3 separate regions of the Homo sapiens genome follow, and all the other regions are linked to region 3. The links are contacts of gene promoters, found by promoter capture Hi-C in human tissues and cell types (Jung and others, 2019). All regions are on one chromosome and are shown on one strand. Each heading gives the region's core, a stretch centred on a gene start or on the middle of the fragment in contact. The rest is flanking DNA. Distances are from core to core; before and after follow the strand shown. Region 1 overlaps ATXN1 (ataxin 1). Region 2 overlaps ATXN1 (ataxin 1). Region 3 holds the start of GMPR (guanosine monophosphate reductase).

Evidence for each region. Contacts are between HindIII fragments. The study calls those that stand out against the background at their distance.
Region 1: a contact is called between a fragment that was not itself captured here and the fragment with the promoter of GMPR in region 3, in 1 of the 25 tissues and cell types used here (mesendoderm cells).
Region 2: a fragment that was not itself captured here is called in contact with the fragment with the promoter of GMPR in region 3 in 1 of the 25 tissues and cell types used here (H1 embryonic stem cells).

Annotation. Positions count from the first base shown.
Region 1 is chr6:16,409,764-16,414,709 of GRCh38, forward strand. The region is part of intron 6 of ATXN1 (ataxin 1); the gene reads right to left. Among named protein-coding and RNA genes, the nearest start is that of GMPR, 170 kb to the left of the region's middle. RefSeq lists an enhancer at 4,351-4,540. The HindIII fragment of the contact is 4,193 bases long and covers 464-4,656 here.
Region 2 is chr6:16,482,521-16,486,817 of GRCh38, forward strand. It overlaps ATXN1 (ataxin 1), which reads right to left. Exons shown (of 8, transcript NM_001128164.2): 6 at 3,452-3,589. Among named protein-coding and RNA genes, the nearest start is that of GMPR, 250 kb to the left of the region's middle. The HindIII fragment of the contact is 4,617 bases long and covers 1-4,191 here.
Region 3 is chr6:16,236,598-16,240,892 of GRCh38, forward strand. GMPR (guanosine monophosphate reductase) reads left to right here and starts at 1,990. Exons shown (of 9, transcript NM_006877.4): 1 at 1,990-2,183. The coding sequence starts at 2,097. RefSeq lists silencers at 1,773-1,872, 1,993-2,092. The HindIII fragment of the contact is 5,881 bases long and covers 1-3,642 here.

The DNA of each region.
Region 1 (4,946 bases), core at 1,310-3,809, 170 kb after region 3:
ATCTGGGGCTCTTCTTTGCCCCCCACCCCACAGCCTCACATGTCTTGGTTTGCGGCTTTTAAACAGCGAGTTCTAGAGAAGTTCCACAAAACTGTGCTCCACCTGCTGGCCTTCTGGGGAAGCTGCGTCTGGGCTGATGATGCTGGTTGCGGGTTGAGCGAAAACAAGGAACAGATTTGAGTTTGTCCAAAGCATGCTTGGTACTTGAAAATTAACCCTTCAAGACTGGGCATGTGTCCAGTGATGCTCTGAAGCTGGCAAAGATGAGCATCAAATCACCAGACGTGCATGGAGAGCATGAGCTGAACGACCGTCGTGATAGGCTTGGCAGAGGATGAAGCAGAGGGTGGCACCGGAGCCCTACCTGGGTGCTGGCACTGCCTCGGCCTCTTGCTTACTATGACGCCGTGTGAATCACAGCATCTAGCGGCCCTCCTTCCCCCTTACTATGACTTCCAATTTTGAAATACTGTGACTCTGCTGTGTACTTAATTGACATCTCTTTCTGAAGGAATTTACAATCCAGTTGATGATGTAAGACCCACTATCATAAGCCAATTAGAGAACCAAACAAGTGCTGAAGGGACCCCTATGGAGGCAGAGAACCTGAAATGAACAGTGAAGACTAAATCTGACTTACAAAGGTGAGGAGCAGGGAGTACATTTCTTTCCTAATGCTTGCACTGGGATTTCTGACGAATACCTCAGAGGCTATGTTGGGCTTTTTCTGATGTAGCGATATTTTGGAGATTATGGTTCAACCAGTGATTTGTCTAAACCTGTTTGAGGATTCTTTCTAACATATCATTCCCTTCCCTACATAAAGATAATATGCAAAAAATCCAAAAGGGTGCAATCATTTGTTTTACTAGAATCTTCTTTATGTTCTAAAGTCTTAATCATGCATTTCTTTCAAATTGTGAGCCTCCAATGAACTACAAGCTTGTCAGAATTACATCTATTCAGGTCATATACAACATCCGTGGAGCAAAGTGAATTTGAAGTTAAGTCTCCTCTTAGTGTAGCAGTACGTATTTTGAATGAGAACGGCCAGTGCTAAAGATGGAAAATAGGTGGGTGGCCAGGCACAGTGGCTCACGCCTGTAATCCCAGCTCTTTGGGAGGCCAATGCAGGCGGATCACTTGAGGCCAGGAGTTTGAGACCATCCTGGCCAACATGCTGAAACCACGTCTCTACCAAAAATACAAAAATTAGCCGTGTGTAGTAGCACATGCCTGTAGTTTCAGCTACTTGGGAGGCTGAGGCAGGAGAATTGCTTGAACCTGGGAGGCGGAGGTTGCAGTGAGCTGAGATCACACCACGGCACTCCAGCCTGGGTGACAGAGTGAGACCTCTGTGTCAAAAAAAAAAAAAAAAAAAAGAAAAGAAAAGAAAAGAAAAAGATGTAAAATAATTTGAAAACAAAAGCCTAAAGATGCTTGCTGAAATCAGCTATTAGTCTGTTCTCTTCAGGAAAATGACATATTATGCATAATTAATAATAATAATAACATAACTAATTTTATGTCTTATTGACTCTAAGGTATGGCTATCTCTATTTACTACTACCTCATATGACTTTAATATTGATATTGAATTAAAGTCAGTGCAAGATCTGTAGTACATTAGTAAGTATGCAAAAATGGGAAATTGAAGCCCTGTTTATAGGTGGTACTCAGAGAAGGCCCAGGGTTGTTGGTGCCAACTGGAAAAAGTTTATATCTGATTATATTAATAGCAACATTGATCTGGCATTTTGCCCTGGCATAGTTTTTTACCTTCTTGAAGGTTAAAAAAAAAAAATCTCCCTGGCTGCATCAGGATTTAAGACATTGGGGAGAAAGAAAGGATAAAGAGGGAACAAGGGCAAAGATGAGGATCATTGAAGACGTTCAAGGATAATTAAACTTCTGCCCATAGCTGGCCTGGGGGAGAAATGAATGTCACCGTAGTATGGATGTGGCTGGCTCACAGTGTGAAGAGAGAAGACCTTGTTTCCAGTCATTCACAGCCCTGTTGAGATATACCTTCATGCCTAATTCCTTCACCCTCTGAAGTCCAACATTATTTAATTGATAAGATATGCCACATATCATCTTGTCCTTTGTGTTTAAGTTGTTCTTATTAATATGTATGTCTTATCTCCCTTAGTAGATTGTCAGCTTCTTGAGGTTATCTTGAATGTTTTAACTCAGCTCTCTCTCTCGCACTATCTTGCTTAGGGAAGACACCCAATAAATATTAGTTGAAGACATGACCAAGTGCATGAAGTACTGTATAGGCTTGCTAAATAAGGGCAGTAAAAATGCCATTGGATCTTGTAGGCAAATTCTGAGGTTGTAACGGATGAAATTAATATAAATGTTGATTCACTGAATTGTGAACTATAGAATATGAACCCTGTCAATAGGAGAAACCTTTCTAAAAGCCTTCTTCTTTGTTGTGCATGTTTTTAGGGATTCAGTCCAGAACTTTCACCCGGAAACTCAAAACAAGAAATTTAGTTTGAAATAAATCAGGTCTTAACAAGTGAGAGACTATTAAGATTAACAGACTGTCTTGGACAGCCTCCTGCGTGTCCCTTATCATCTAAAGGGTTACTACTAGACTACATCCTTTTCTGCTTTATCTCAGAGGCCCATTAAAGCATGTAACCAGACTGCTCAGATTCATACTATACTAATTTTCTCTTTCCAAAAGAAACCAAACAACAAAATAAAACTCCACCAAGTGACTAAACTAAATTCAAATATCCATACAATTCTATCCACGGCAACAGCGTCAGTTTCTCAGAAATTTCATTGCCAGGCTCCCCCACTTCAATGGACAATAGAAGAAAATGTGCCTCAATGTCGCAAACTTCAGTGCCGCTCAAGGAGCTAATTAAATCTCCTAGGATGCCCTCACCCACACCCTAAGAAATTTGAAGGGTACGCAAAATCCAAACTCAATTCAACACCATTAAAATAAAAGGCCTTTACATATAAAGCTTAATCTTGACTTTCTTTGTCCTTTTCTCCCCACAAAGTAGTAGATTTCCAAATTCCCCAAAGGTCATGAGTTTGGCAATGGAACAATGGCATCCCCAGAGTGACTGCCTTGGGGAGAGAGTTTGCTCCTCTCTTGGCCATGCCGTGGGGGCTGTTGTCTCTCTTGGGAGCTGCAAGCATCATCAAAGTGGATGAGGGCTGGCCACAGCAAGAAGTATGGTCTCTGTCCTATAGTTTTCTAGTGTTAGGGTGATGAGGTCTCTATCTATTCACAAGAAGAAAAAGAGTCATCCTAAACCATTCCCAAACTATGTTAGAAATGAAGAAAGGGGAAGGGAAATAGCACTTGCTGAGCACTTCGTTTAAATGTGCCAGTCATTATGCTGCATATTTTATATTTAATCCTCACACAACCCTACAAAGTAGAAATGATGACTCTATTTAAAGACAAACTGAAACTCAAAAGAACTTCCTCGAAATGATACAGTTAGCACATTATGGATGCAGAATTCAAACCCAGGCCTGTCTAGTTCTTAAATCCGTGTTCTTCCCATATACCATGCTGCCTCTCAAAAGGAAACACTGTTTTTGTTTTTTTTTTAAGGTACAAATATAGTTTGTGCATTTGGAAGAAGATGCGGCTCGGGACCCATTCTTTTTGTTATAGGCTTGTGCTATAAACATCCATCTTACTCTTAGTTTGACCTTTGTGCCGTGGGCTCATGTCTGTAATACAGGAACCCAATCATTTCTGAAAGTCTGTCTAACAGTGATATTGTGTGCAGCAAATGTTTAATGAATGGATGAGTGAATGTGAATCAATGGGTGGGGGAATAAATAAATAAATGAATGAATGAAAGTGAAACTGACGAGCCCATACTGGGACTGAATCGGCAATGTGGGCCTCCTGAAAGCACTGCATGTTAATCACTACTTTTTTGAGCTTTGTGACATGATGTTTGGGTGTCTGGAGAAAAATCCTGTGTGGTGGTGGTCTGGGCTTTTTTACTGACGCAATGGCCCACCTGATATAATTTTGATTTCCATCAGCCACTAAACTTAGCCTGAAGACAAAATTTCCTTTGAAAGGATTCAGCTTAGGGGAACAGATAATAAGGAGGTGGTTATTTGGGGAAACAAGAGTTACTTTACATTCCTATAACATATTTCTAAAAATGAAACATTCTCAAAGCTGGAAAGTAAGGAAAATCAAACATTGCTCTACTTGGGGTTTTGAAAATGGAACATTGATTGTTTGTAAAAGTGATGCTTAATTTGGAGGATAAGAAGCGAACTTCTTTCTATAGCCTCAAGGAGCTAATTAAAATGTGACACGGCAGTGATTATATACTTAGAGGTATCGATAGGTCCTCATTTTTCCACAGCACAGATAATCTCACGCCAGCTCTCACCTATATTAAGTGTTAGACACTTGGTACAGGAACGGATTTCTGCTCTTCCCTATCTCTCACTGTTCAGGGACCTTTGGTCAGTTCCTCAGCATATTGTACCCTAAATGAGGTGATGAGACAGCATCGAGCCAACTGAACTATCAGAGAGTGAGGTCGTAATGCTTATCGGTCACTGTTAAAACCCATCCAACCCATTTTGGTATGATTCTTGCAGTTACTAAGGCCTGGCCTTCATTCTCTCTCCACTCAGAATTCACTTTAAGCTATTATAAGAAAGCTAAAGATAAAACAGCTTCTGCATAATGAAACACTAATCCCCAGAGTGTGACGCCCACGACACAAATGAATGCTAGACAGAAGATAACCAAATGTCTAGACTTATTCAAACCTGCTTCTCATAGTTCAAACTTGTACTCACTGCTTCATCAGCTTATGAACCATAAACTGATTTAAAAACACACATGCAAAACTGAACAACAACAACAAAAAAACGCTAAACCCAGTAGAGCCTCTTCACTCAGGCCTTTTTATTTGAGTTTATCT
Region 2 (4,297 bases), core at 633-3,132, 250 kb after region 3:
TTAAGGAAGCAGAGAAGCTTAGGAATGAAATATGGATCACTTTCTCCTTGCTTAGACTCTAACCAATATTTGAGCACAGAGGTGGTTTTAGAAAACTCAAGTTCAAAAATCGTTCCTGTTTATTTTCAAAAGGACCAATGAGTGTGGACCCTAAATTTAAACAGCTAAAGCTATAGTCTAAGGACAGTCTCAAATAAATACCTTTGAATTGTCATATGGTGCCCAGGAGGGTCTTGTGGAAAGGGTTTCATGGTAGTGAAAGATGTAATAACTCTTTTTTTCTTTTAACCCTAAGACTGTGCTCAATGTTTTAAAAACAGTTGTAAATGAGGTAGTGCCAAATCATTGATTTTTAGGAACCCAAGAAGGTAAAATAAACGTTCAATTGGCCTCATCTAAGGCTGATACTTTATGCAACTTGAGACACTTAGGGTAAAAACCACCACTGGAGGTGATTTAACTCAATTTTCTCAAGTTGTCCATCATAAAATGAGTCCCCATGGTAGAGAGGACCCAAGGTTATATGGCTAACAACAGCATTGTGCATAAAATCCAGGTCTGCTAACTCTGAGTTCAGTGTCAGCATCATTCTCTTCTTGTACAAGATCCCCCCTCCCCCCAGCCCTTACAGCCAGTCTGAAACATCTTCAGGGGCAAAGGCCATCTGCTGGCAAGTGGTGGCAGATTTGAGAGGCAGTTAATGGGACATGCACAGGAATGAATGCCAGGAGTAACATCTGCAAGGACTGCTGAGCATGGGAACCACTACTTCCAATGGCTGCTGTGATTATCACTCACACATTTATACACCCACTCCTAGACCCTGTTTATGTGCAAACATGCATTCTTTGAAAATTGCCTGCCTTCTCTACTGCAACAGTTCTCCATGGCACAGGCTTTGGGGCATGCAGGACACTAAACCCAGGAAGACAGAAAACCAGTGTTGTAAACATGTGCCCAGATAATGAAAGGTTACCAACATCACAGTTTACTAAGAAAACTAGGAACCCCCCACTGCCCCTACCAAGCAAATGCGGTTTTGAAAAGAAAGTACTTAGCATGCACAAAGAGTTCACTAGAATTTGGTATTTCCTTGCTCTCTCAACACACTCCATTTACAGAAGGATTTTAAAATTACTTCAAGTCTGCCATGTGGCATCTTAAAGTGTACACTTCAGAAGTCCTTTGAAAACCTCACTCAATCTTTGAGGTCTGACAGGGTGTCACATGAACAGTTCAAAGCAACGGTTAAAACAACAACAAAAAACCCCCACTAGATTTGAAACAAAAGCTATCTTGATTATGGTAACTGCATGAGTTATTTAAATAGAGCCTGAAACCTAAAGCAGTTTTACATAAGACACTTGTTTCCTAGGATAAAAATGCTTTAAAAAATACCACCAGAAGTGCATTCTAACAGTTACCTGATTGGGAAAATGATTTCTAGTAAAACACACTGTAACTGGAGTACCCAAATCTAACATGGCCCACAATTATTCCTTGATAGTGACAGAAACTTTTACAATAAGGTTTTTTTTAAAAAAATAAGTAAAATAGTGCTTTCACAATGCTCTTCCCCTTATGAGGACCCTAAACCAAGATGCTGATTGCTTAATAAAAAGGTAGTATGGGCTGGGGATGGTGGCTCATGCCTGTAATCAAAACATTTTGGGAAGCAGAGGCGGGAGGATCACTTGAGCTCAGTAGTTCAAGACCAGCCTGAGCAACATGGTGAAACTCTGTCTCTACCAAAAATACAAAAAATTAGCCAGGCATGGTGGTGTGCACCTGTGGTCCCAGCTACTCTGAAGGCTGAGGTGGGAGGGTCACTTGAGCTTGGGAGGCAGAGGTTGCAGTGAATCGAGATCTTGCCATTGCACTCCAGCCTGGGTGACAGAGTAAGGCACCACCTCAATTAAAAAGAAAAAAATGAAAATAAGGTAGTATGAAGCAATACACAGACTTGCAAAATATTGTTTTATGGGGGCTCGCGACTTGCCCAAGGTTGCCAGTGTACTTGATCTCAACAGTAGGAATAGGATTCAGGTCAGCTGATTCCAGGCTGACTGATTTCCACTAGACCCAACGTGTACAGAATGGAAACACAATGAAGCTTCAGTGTCTCCCACTGTCTGCTTTCAATGAAGCACTGGGAAAATTTGAATTTAATAAGCTCATATTAATATTACTGATTATTTAACCCTGAGGAGATGATATGGATACATATGCATATTTTAATACAAATGTTTAGAAATCTATGAAACCAAAAAAATTAGGAACATTTTTTTTCCTTGTCAATACTTTTCTCCCTGATATATGCTACACTTTGCTCTTTACAAATCTTGTAGGCAACTGCAAAAAAAATAGGTAATACATGTTCAAAAAAGTTTTCTGGCTGAGTTAAGAAGCTGGAAACCTAAATATATATGTGTGTGTGTGTGTGTGTGTGTGTGTGTGTGTGTGTGTGTGTGTACACGCACACACATACATAAACAAGAGTATACATATATATTACAGAAATATATGTATTTATATATACACAAAAACAACAACAAAAACCTAGAAGAAATTGGCTTGTCATTTCCTAAAATTTGAAGATAATATCTTCTCGTCCTCAGAGGTATTCATAGGCCATCCTGGGTTTCATGTAGCTATTTTCTTTCCTGGTCAAAATCTCCTAACTGTGTTTTGTGACACAGTCCAGCAACAAGGTAAATTCTCTAGAAAGTAGGAGGGCTGAGCACCTTTGCATTATTTCCTAGTGGAAGGGCTCCCTGAAGTCACACTATGTCATCTCTTCCATTACCTGACACTAAAACTTCTCATGCAAGGCGGCCATCAGGTGACATGTGGGAACAAACTTTACTAATCTCAAAATCCCAAGCCAGTAACTGATCAAAACCAGTAAATCAGCTCATTTTAAGTAAGGGAAGCACCAAACATAACTGCTTGTAACTTGCATACCTCAAGATTTTACAAGCCAGAGAGAAAAATGTCATTTTCATCAACTGCACATACAGAAGAATAATTGCTGGATGGAAACTCTGATTGCTAATCCTTAGCCTGGAGAATTTTACCCCCTACTCACCAACCTAAAAGAACTGCAACAGCCCAGTTTAAAGGGGCTGCTCTAAATCTGATACTATTTGACTGTACCAGTAGAAAAGGTGTTCCTACAATGAAAGAATCACTGTATTCCATCCTTTTATTCCTGAAGTAGATAGTTTGCAGCATGCCATAGAAGCCGAGAGAAAGGCAAGTTCCAGCAAATACAAACAGGACCTCTTCCCTTAAAAAATTAAATTCCCTTCCAATTAAAAAAAGAAATTAATTGGACGATCACCTAGAGCTCATGCTAATACCCCTTCAACACCTGGCTCGGTTACATCAAGTGATTCATGAATCCTACAAGGCAAGCCACTACACATATTGTTCTTGGTTGTTAACTTACAACATTCACTGCGTACTGTTCACAGGTAGCCTCAGCCTATACTTCACCATGGAGACTTCCCACAGGCTCTGGAGGGCTCCTGAGGGCTCTTGGGCTCAGGCGTGTTCTTTCTTCCTTTCACAGAGAAGTGAGAAATACCTAGCATGGAAATAGAACAGAAGAAAAAGAAAAAGGTAAACACATCATCAAATCACTTGTTATCTGAACAAATACAGTCTCACGACCAATTAGACGAATTGATAGTTCACCAAAGACCATTTTCTTAAAAAAGAAGTTCAATGTTCTTGCTCTTTTCCCAAAAAGAACACAACATGGTACAGCCAGCCTCTCCTCACCCCAAAGTTGAAGCCATTTCTGGGAGACTTCAGACACAATCTTAGCTGAGATGCAAACTTGCAAAAGCCTCAAAACAGGCCACTTGGCTTTACTCTTCTGCAAAAGGAGGCAAGGACTAGCACCTTCTGCCACTGTCATATCTTACTGGGTCATGGAGAAGATCAAGAAGATCATTCTTGCAAAGCACACACAGTTCCCGAGAAGAAATCCACTATGTTAATGCAAAGCGTTGTTGGTGGTCATAAGCCTGTTCCTGAGCTCTGGAGCCAGAATACAAAAGCCAGCACTGGTAAGGCACCAATCATCAACTATCCCGGGAGCATCCAAACGTCTGCATGCCCTACTGTGCTGAGTTTCAGGAAAGAATAGGAACAGAAACGAAGAATCTGGAATCTCCGGGAAAAAGAAAGTGAAGGCATCACGCAGGAAGCTAGGAGAAAGAGTGTAAGGTGGGCAGTAGGGCACATGCAGGAGCGTGGTTATTTGGTACACGGCTCCCTCAGATTGCTG
Region 3 (4,295 bases), core at 740-3,239:
TAATAATTTAAAAATAATCATACCATCTAGTAATTATATTTTACCTCTATTTAATCTTTAAAAGATCAGAATTAGGTTTCCTTTCCGTACTTCACAAATAAGCAGCACATCTGGCCAGCTCCCAAGAATTCGTCAAGGGTTATAAACATTGCATGGGCTGGACTAATTGTGGCTACTTTCATTCTCTCTGATAAGTTTCATTTCCTTCCCTGAAACTTCATGAACTTCCTTTGGGGTATAGCTAATGAAACCATGTGGGATGGGCTGAGACCTTTATCATCTTCAGACATTTGTGTTAAATTGAATATTGTGATGTATCTTTTATGGTCAGCCTTATCACATGCTAGCTCAAGGAGAACAGTTGCTAGCTCAGTTCGAGGCTGCAGAAAAATGGAAGAGAATGAAAGATGATTCTTGCCTTTGTGCAGTTAGCATTCTAGTTTGAAAATACAAACACAATGCACATAATGTAACATGTGACTACAAATCTGTAACTACCATGCATTGAGCAACTACTATGGGACAGACATTGTGCTTACATAAACACACACACTTTAATTCTCACAAAAACCAGGGAGGAGATAGGGTTAACCCCCCCTCCTGCCCCCACCCCTTTTATGAGAAAACTGAGACTTAGAGAAATTGACTCCCCTAAGGTCACCTAGCTAGACAGTGGTGGAACCAGGTTTCAAACTCAGGCAGAGATGTTCCAGGACAAAAGCAGCTTCAGTGAATAGTTGTAGCAAGTTTTAAGGACTGAGAAATTTATATTGAATTTTTCTGCGGCCTTAGGCAAGTTATTTCATTTATAGAAGCCTCGTTTTTCCTTATCTGTGAAATGGCTCTTTCTTCATTGGGTTGTTCTGAGAGTGAATGAGATGATGCATGAAGCCCGGCAGCACATTTCAAATGTATAATAAAAGGTCGGTAAGGTCAATAAGTGAATCAATGAACTCACATCACTGGTAACCCCTCGAACTCACATCACTGGTAACCCTCAGAGGGGACTCAGGCTCCTCAAATCTCAGGATCTGCGTCGACTACAGACCTCACTGTTTTTCTTAAACAAAAATCCTGAAATCCAGGCTGGGCGCAGTGGCTCACGCCAGTAGTCCCAACACTGGGAAGCTGAGGCGGGAGGATTGCTTGAACCCAGTAGTTCAAGACCAGCCTGGGCAACACAGTGAGACCTTGTCTCTTAACAACAAGTCCAAAGGGAATCATGGCCTCCACAATCCCAGTACAGCTAAACAGTTAACTGCCCACGTTCTTTTCCTTAATTCTATACAACCTCCCTGGGGTTTCTGGTTCTTTGGCAAGTGAGAGACGTGCTCCTCAACACTGGGTGAGCACACCGGGCTTGAATTTTAAAAAAGGAGAATCCGCCGGGCACGGTGGCTCACGCCTGTAATCCCAGCACTTTGGGAGGCCGAGGCAGGCGGATCACTTGAGGTCAGGGGCTCGAGACCAGCTTGGGCAATATGGTGAAACCCCGCCTCTAGGAAATAATTTTTAAAATAAGCTGGGTGTGGCGGCGTGCGCCTGTACTCGAGGAGGCTGAGGCATGAGAATCGTTTGAGCCCAGGAAGTCGAGGCTGCGATGAGCGGCGATAGCGCCACTCACTCCAGCCTGAGCGACAGTGAGACTGTCTCAAAAAAAAAAAAAAAAAAGTAAAAGCTCTCAGGGAGCGACTTTTCCCTTGGATAAGGCAGCCACACGCTAAGTCCCCTCTCCATCGGGGACCCTGGGGACAAACAGAACGGTGCGCATTTCCCTCCCCCGTCCCCATTCGGTCACTGCCACGGGCTGTACACCTGAGGGGGAAGGACGGGGGCGGCGGCGCGAGGAGGAAGGGCTTCGCCGCCAATCTGTCCCTAACCAGTCTGCCTCTCAACCCCTGCCTGAGGCGGAGGCGGTGCCCGGGGCGGGCCAAGCGTGACCGCGGGTCGGCGGGGCGTGTTTAAGACCGCGGCGTGCGCACCCGGCCCACGCCAGCTCCCGGCCGCGGCACAGCAGCCCCGGCGCTCCCCGCGCCGCCCCGCGCAGGCGCCCCCGCCCCGCCGTCGCCGCCGCCGCAGCCAGGAGCCGCTGCACCATGCCCCGCATAGATGCGGACCTCAAGCTCGACTTCAAGGATGTCCTGCTCCGACCTAAGCGGAGCAGCCTCAAGAGCCGAGCCGAGGTGGGGGACGTTCGGAAGTCGCAGTGGGGTGGGATTTTTTTTTCCGGGTGGCGCGGGGCAAGTGGGTGGAAGGGGGTGGCACCGGGTTACCCTGCCTGCTTTGGTGTTTGAGACTGGGGCGCTGCGCCCCCGTTCCCGCGCCCCAGCACCTGCCAGGACGTGAGGTGTCTTTAAGGGCGGTGATACGGGGGCCCATGAAATTCTCTACACGTCGGTCCCGTTGGGTGGCCTAGGGGAAGTTCACAGTGAAACTCGACCACAGATGAGCGAGATCCAGTGGCCAGTTGGTTTAGAAGGAATAGGGGTACGAGGGCGCTTATAGCAAGAAAAGGAAACTGGAGCTAGGGGAGAGAGGACGAGAAAAACAACTGCAGATCCCGGTGATTTTTGGCTGCGTCTCCTAGTGCTGATAATTGCTGCTGCTTTCGCTTCGGGTCCAGCGGTGGAACTTCGTGAACGCGTCTGAAAAACCAGAACCCAGGGCACAAGTTCAGGGTTTCCTTTCTGAGTTTGGCGGCCTTGCTGGCAGTGGGGCTTGGGGACTCAGCGGTACTGGACAGCCCGCGGTCCCAGCCTAGCCCTGGAGAAGAGTTTCGAAAGCTTTGGGGTGAGAGAGGTGGGGGCGAATTGGAAGCCTCGGGCATTTCCCTGGTTCTGCCTGGATGTCCTCAAATCCTAAGGAACAGGTGGAGACCGGACTGGAAATAGCCTGAGGCTGGGGGAAGGGAGGCCAGTCCCTGAAGGATAAACTAGTTGCCTGAAAGGCAGAGTGCCCCGGGGTGGTGTGCGCTGGTGACTGGCTTTGCTGAGAGCTGGAGAGGAAGGTGAGGAAACCGGACACGGTTGAAGGCTGGGGCTGAAGGAGTAAACACGAGGAGGCTGGGCCAACCTGCACAGCTCCGTCCACTCAGCTCCACAAACAAGACCATAAATAAATCCCCTCAGCAAAGAAGTCCGCTGCCCACTCCGGTGCCAGGCCTAACTGCAGTGCCTGGGGCTGCCAGCCGAGGGCTTGCTTGGATTGGGGAAGCCTCCGCGTTAGCCAATGACTAAACCAAGTGGCCTTCTGTAAGCAGCAGCATTGGCTGGTTTGGAGCCCGGCAGGACTGGAGGACGTAGGGGAGGAATGATTAAAACTTATCGCCCCAGATTGGGTGACCCTGTGCCTGTCCCTCATGACCTTTCAGGTGCTAAAGAGGGGGCCTCTCTTGGAACAAAAACAGTTTGGAGGGCAGGCCTGGGCCTCTGGAAGCATGAGCTGTAGCCAATTCCTAAGGCAAGACCAAGATGAAATAGGGGGATTCTGGATGTGCTAATAATTTGGTGGCCTCAATATTCTTTAAATATTCAAAATGTATTTAGAAGAGAGAAACTCATTTTTCAGAAAATTGGATGTTCAAAACAAAGATATACCTATTTTCTGAACCAGAAAACATGTTGAGAAGGTAAAATATTGAACATTAATGTAATAGGGCCAGGCACAGTAGCTCACACCTGTAATCCCAGCACTTTAGGAACCTGAGGTGGAAGGATTGCTTGAGGCCAGGAGTTCGAGGCCAGCCTAGGCAACAAAGCAAGACCTCAGCTCTACAAAAATTTAAAAAATCAGCCAGGGCAGTTGTGCACACCTCTAGTCCCAGCTATTTGGAAGGCTGAGGCGGGAGGATGGCTTGAGCCCACGAGCTGGAGATTACAACAAAAATTTAAAAAATTAGGGCAGTGGTGCTCACCTGTAGTCCCAGCTACTTGGAAGGCTGAGGCGGGAGGATGGCTTGAGCCCAGGAGCTGGAGGTTACAGTGAGCTATGATGGTGCCACTGCACTTCAGCCTGGACAACCCTGTCTCTAAAGCTAAAATGAAATTTATGTAATAGAATGAATTACTCCTTCTCGGGGAATACTATCACATCATGCGACAATGTCATGCAACACTTGGCTTCATAATTTGGGCAGATTGTAACTAATGTTCCAGTTTGGGATAGCATCTTTGCAATCTTCATGTACACATTGCAGTGAGAACTCAGTGCCCTTGAGGAGTCTCTTTTGTATTTTTATGTTCGTGGGAGTTTGCCAGCCACGGGCCTGGAGACTCAGGTTAACCAGCATTGCCTTT